2 separate regions of the Homo sapiens genome follow, and region 2 is linked to region 1. The links are contacts of gene promoters, found by promoter capture Hi-C in blood cells and fetal thymus (Javierre and others, 2016). All regions are on one chromosome and are shown on one strand. Each heading gives the region's core, a stretch centred on a gene start or on the middle of the fragment in contact. The rest is flanking DNA. Distances are from core to core; before and after follow the strand shown. Region 1 holds the start of ENKD1 (enkurin domain containing 1). Region 2 overlaps NFATC3 (nuclear factor of activated T cells 3).

The links. The method cuts DNA at HindIII sites, captures the fragments that hold promoters and counts their contacts. A CHiCAGO score of 5 or more calls a contact.
Region 2: a fragment that was not itself captured here is called in contact with the fragment with the promoter of ENKD1 in region 1 in 1 of 17 cell types (neutrophils); the score reaches 5.8 in neutrophils.

The regions. Positions count from the first base shown.
Region 1 is chr16:67,665,264-67,668,053 of GRCh38, reverse strand. It overlaps ENKD1 (enkurin domain containing 1), which reads left to right and starts at 1,304. Exons shown (of 7, transcript NM_032140.3): 1 at 1,304-1,696; 2 at 1,789-1,983. The coding sequence starts at 1,612. It overlaps C16orf86 (chromosome 16 open reading frame 86), which reads right to left and starts at 1,240. Exons shown (of 4, transcript NM_001012984.3): 1 at 982-1,240; 2 at 529-758; 3 at 1-176. The coding sequence starts at 1,083. RefSeq lists silencers at 873-922, 1,003-1,052, 1,073-1,122, 1,463-1,732. The HindIII fragment of the contact is 12,585 bases long and covers 1-2,790 here.
Region 2 is chr16:68,093,966-68,096,778 of GRCh38, reverse strand. All of the region lies in intron 1 of NFATC3 (nuclear factor of activated T cells 3), which reads right to left. Among named protein-coding and RNA genes, the nearest start is that of NFATC3, 10 kb to the right of the region's middle. RefSeq lists a silencer at 2,699-2,813. The HindIII fragment of the contact is 6,898 bases long and covers 1-2,813 here.

The sequences.
Region 1 (2,790 bases), core at 55-2,554:
CAGCGTGGAGCACGGGAGCCCCCAGGCTCTTGCGCTTCTTGGCTTTTTTGTGCTGTTTGGCAGATGGTGAGGGCTCACTCTGGCTGTCCTCTGGCTCCTCCTCCTGCAGCGGCAGCTTGGGTGGCAGCTCAGCTTCAGCCTTAAGATGGGCACGAAGGCCCGGGAGGCTGAGAGACCTGAGCCAGGGACAAGAGACTTGAGCCAGGCTCCAGCCCTGGCTCCCATTCCCTGGCCCAGGGAATAGCCCAGCCTGCCCACAGCCCCAGGGCTCGACGCCTGTCCCGTTCCTGGTCAATGAGACCCCAGGCCCAAGAGGCTTAGAGGCCAGTGAGCCCAGGCCCCTACAAGCCCTGAAGCTCCCACTCTCCTGCTGCTCCCTACACGGGGGCTCTTGAGGAACGGGAGGAGAGTGATGGTAGTGGCTGGGGACGAGAATCCTCCCTGCAGGAGTGCAGGATTTAGGAATCCTACTGTGGTGTGTGCCCCAACCCCGGGGCTGCAGCTCCTTCCCCCCGAGAGCCCCCTCACTTGACAGGCTTTCTCTTTGGACCATGACGGGGCCTCACAATGGAGACCACGGGCCTGGGGCCTCTCTCCTCTAGCGCCCCGGCATGCGGCTTGGGCCGCTCCTCCCCCAGCTTGGGTCCTTCCTCCTGGAGCTCCGACTCCGAAGCTGCGCCTGCTGGGCGCTGGTCTTCACTCTGGGTTCCGCGGGCCTCATGGGCAGGCACCAGGAACTGGTCTCCCGCCACTGGACACTAGAGATGACACACAGGCCATCGGTCACCATGGCCGGGCAAAGGACATAGGGATCCGTCACTGAACACCTAACGTTAGACACCGAAACGGGAATAAGGACACCAGCCTGTGCCCCTCCCCGCCTGGAGGGCCCAGCCTGGCAGTTAGCGGGTCGGGGCGCTCAGTTCCACCTCTCAGAGCGCTGCGGCCCTGTGTTTGAAGGTTAAACAGCCTGACGGTCACCTCGGAGGTCTGAGCGCTGCCGGGCTCCTCCGTGAGCTGTCCCTGCCCCACGACCGTCGCCTCCTGGACCCCCGGCCGCCTCTCCGCCCCTGCCGAGGCCATGGCTGCGCAGGCTGAGTGCGTCCTCGACAGCTGCTTGGGGCGGGCCCCAAGGGGCTGGATGGTGGCCCCGCGCTGACCCCGGAGACCGGCCAGCAAGCGAGGGCAGAGCTGGGAAGAGAAACCGGCGACCGCGGAGCCCACCCTCGGCCGAAACTACAAGCCCCAGGACGCTTTGCGCCGGGGTCAGTGGGCCCTGACCCCGGGGACGGAAGCCACGGTTGCCCGGCAACAACAAGTCCCGTCGGGTGGCAGCGGCTGGCGGCAAAACCTCTCGAGTGAGCCCCTGCCCGAGTGCCGCGGGGGAGAGGCCGCGAGCGGGACCGAGAAGTGGGCTGGGAGCAGAGGTCGCGGAGGTGGCGAGCGAGGCCGGGGCCCAGGCGGGGACCGGCAGGGGCCCGGGAGTGGCGGGCACGCCAGGGTCAGGGTGCCGGGCGAGGGAGGGGGCCCGGGGTTGGGGAAGGGGGCCCGGGGAGGGAGGTAAACAGCCCTGCAGGCCTCGGGGCACCGTTGCTGGGCGGCGCCGGCGGCATGTGCGAGGGCCCGTCCCGCATCTCGGGGCCCATCCCCCCAGACCCGACGCTCTGTCCTGACAACTACAGGCGGCCGACCTCGGGTGAGTCCGGGGGCTTGGCGGTGGTGCGAGGCTCAGGGGTCGGCCCTGGCTCCACCTCTGAGCCCCGGACTCCGCCCGGCTCCGCCCCACAGCTCAAGGGCGCCTCGAGGGAAACGCGCTGAAGCTGGACTTGCTGACTTCCGACCGGGCCCTGGACACCACCGCTCCCCGTGGCCCCTGCATCGGTCCCGGTGCCGGAGAGATCCTGGAGCGCGGCCAGCGCGGCGTCGGGGACGTGCTGTTGCAACTCGAGGGGATCTCCCTAGGTCCTGGGGCCTCTCTCAAGAGTAAGTCCCAGGAATGGAAGAAGGGACAGAGAGGCAGTGCGGGGTGGAAAGAGATCAAAAGCAGCTGCTCTTTCCACCCTGACGTGGGCCCAGGCTTTGCATCTCTTGAGTCTCAGTTTCCCCAACTATAAAAGGGGGAGAAATATGCTACCTTCTCGAAGGAGGTGAACTGAATGAGGTAGTTCCCACGAAGCCCTAGCTCTGCTTTATGCATTTGTTACCCATTAAATTTGTTTGTTGAGTGCCTACTGTGTGCCAGGCCATATAGATGCTAGAACACAGGGCTGAAGATAAGCATGAGCCATCACTGAGTCAAGGTGGGATACAAAGATCAAGAGATGAATGTCATATATGAGATGATCTATGGTGTACTTCAATGGTGTACTTCACTATAATAATGGAGGAAATCACCTGGGCGCAGTGGCTCACTCCTGGAATCCCAGCACTTTGGGAGGCCCAGGCGGGCAGATCACTTGAGTCCAGGAGTTGAAGACCAGCCTGGCCAACATGGTGAAACCCCATCTCTACAAAAAATACAAAAATCAGGCTGGCATGGTGGAGTGTGTCTGTAATCCCAGCTACTCGGCAGGCTGAGGTAGCCGGGGAGGTTGAGGCTACAGTGAGCTATGATCATGCCACTGTACTCCAGCCTGGGTGACAGAGTGAGACCCTGTCTCAAATAATAATAATAATAATAATAATGGAGAAAATCATCCTGTGATACTTACTACATGAGGAAGGGAACACGGTGATGAGGGAGAGTGTGTGTAGGGTCTAAGGTAGTTGGAGAGGTCAGGGAGCTCTTTC
Region 2 (2,813 bases), core at 129-2,628, 430 kb before region 1:
CCATGCTCTTTAACCTGTCTTTGGGTGTGATAATCGGCTGGCCTGAAATGTTATGTCCTCCCTTAGCCACCTGGTGAACTCATCCCACTGGATTCTGCTCAACTGTACTCTTCTCTGACCTCTCTACTCAGAGTTAATCTGTGTCATTATATGCTCAGAGGCCCTTCTCCGTACCTCTGTTATATTAATATTGTTGTAGTCATTTATATGTCTACTCCAATAGACTGAATTATATTTAATTTGTATTACCAGTATTTGGCACATAATAATACTGACACTTAACAAAACTTAATTAAAAGATTAAATGATTTAGTATATTTACCCACTTAATGGAAGAGGACTTTCTTGAGGTCCCTTCCAGCTCAGTTACTCTAAGATCTCATACAATGTTCCCCTCTGGTTACTACTTTCTCTTCTTCTACATATTCTTCTATTTTATCCTTTAACAACAGCTAGTTTCTTTCAGATGAGCCTTCGAAAGAATGAAACAAAGCACTTTAAAAAGAATTTTTAGCGTGGGCATGGTGGCTCACACCTGTAATCCCAGTACATTGGGAGGCCAAGGTGGGAGGACTGCTCAGGCCCAGGAGTTTGAGACTGGCCTGGGCAACACAGAAAGACTCCGTCTCTATCAAAAACAATTTTTAAAAATTAGCTGGGCATGGTGGCAAGCACCTGTGGTTTGAGCTACTTGGGAGGCTGAGTTAAGACTGCAGTGATCTATGATTGAGCCACTGAACTCCAGCCTGGGCAACAAAGTGAGACCCTGTCTCAAAATAAATTTTAAGAAATAAAATAAAATAAGCATTTAAAAAACACTTTACTATCTCAATTTTGACAAATCAGATTTGACACTGTCTTTATGCTTCTGTATGTCTGCATAATCATCAGGTTCCACCTGAACCACACAACAAAAATGAATTTTGTGTCCCAGATCTCCCACCCATCAAGACACCAACCCCACTGTTATTAATCCAGGATCAATAGCCATACTTCTCTTTCTTGGCACCTCTATCAACTCCCATGCCCATCCCCAAGGACTCTGACAAAGCAAAAGAAAAAGCAAGTGCCAGAGAAAGTAACTGCATAACAAAAGTCAGGTTTACATTATAAAGTCCCTCAACTGGCTGGGCACAGGGGCTCATGCCTATAATCCCAGCACTTTGGGAGGCCGAGGCAGGCGGATCACCTGAGGTAGGGAGTTCAAGACCAGCGTGTCCAACATGGTGAAACCCTGTCTCTACTAAGAATACAAAAATTAGCCAGGCACGGTGACACACATCTGTAATCCCAGCTACTTGGGAGGCATGAGGCAGGAAAATCACTTGAACCTGGGAGGTGGAAGTTGCAGTGAGCAGAGATTGTGCCACTGTGCTCCAGCCTAGGTGACAGAGTGAGACTCTGTCTCAAAAAAAAAAAAAAAAAAAAAAATTAGCTGGGCATGTGGTGCACACCTGTAATCCCAGCTACTTCAGCTACTTGAGAGGCTGAGGCATCACAATCACCTGAACCCAGGAGGCAGAGGTTGCACTCCAGCCTGGGAAATAGAGTGAGATTCTCTCTCAAAAAAAAAAAATTTTTTTTAAGTCCCTCAGTTGCTAGAATACTGTGGATAGTAAGCACAGACAATTCTTTTGGTTGACCCCCTCCCAGCATCCATTTTCTCTTTCTTCCTCCCTAACAGATTTTCTATCCTTCTATCCACTCCTCTCCCATGCAGCCTTGTGTTTTGGGGAAGCCAACCATATCCTCAGGCCAAGGCATAGGTCTGGTTGGCTAAGAATAATTCCACTCATCTTTACCAGTAACTAATTTAGGAAAGGGAATGTAACCCAGTTTTGGTCAATGAAACGCAAGGTTAAGTTTGCTGAAGGCTTCTGGAAAAGTCCTTCGTCACTCTTAAAAAGAAAAGAGCTGTGTGAAGCCAGCATCCGTGTCTCATTCCTTCCCCTCAGCAAATATCAATCCAAATGTAACTATTTTGCATATATTTAAACTAGAAGATTAAGAGTATTTTACTATTTATTTCAAATAGTAATCGGATGATTAAAAAGTCAACAGAAGTGCTAAAACCATGATCAGCCAACATTTACTAGGTAACATGTATGACAAAAGAGCTTTCTTGCCTTTGCTCTCAAAGGGAGAGTTCTGGTGAAACTCAGAGACAACTGGGTATGTACAAGAGAGAGAGAAAATCCAAAAGAGTACTGATCTTGAGAGAGAAGAATAAATGGCAGATGGCAAATTGGTCAAAATATCAAGGAAAAAAATGTGTATCAGTCCTAGTGGCTATAGAAGGTAGTTCTCCTTGCATCCTAAATTCAATCAAATAAATAGTACTCATTTTTTTTTTTTTGAACATGTGAAAGCAAAATGTTAACCTTGAAAAATGAAACTACCCTGACTATTGAGCATTTTTAAAATTCTGAATTTTTCCTCATTCAGGTTTAGGGCAATTTTGACGACAGATCTAAACGCTTTAAACTTTAAAAGCAAAACAGCCTGCAAGATGACAAATCAGACCCTAATCAAGACAACATGGGCGGAGAGGGGGGCTGCCAAAGACAAAGGCCAATTTCTCCTTAGAGTAAACTGCCTTAAAACCTAAAATGATATCACCTCTTGACCTCCAGATCCACAAAGCAGCAAAGAGAAAAGGCCCAAAAGAGCTAAATTTGGGTCTAGCACAGTTAGCGATATAGCGATACAGTACCCTCTATTGGTCTAACTGTATCACTGCTACCCTTTAAAATTTCCTAGAGCAGGCAGGAATAAGAAGCATCCCTCAAGTAGCTATTTTGAGCCCAAAGCAG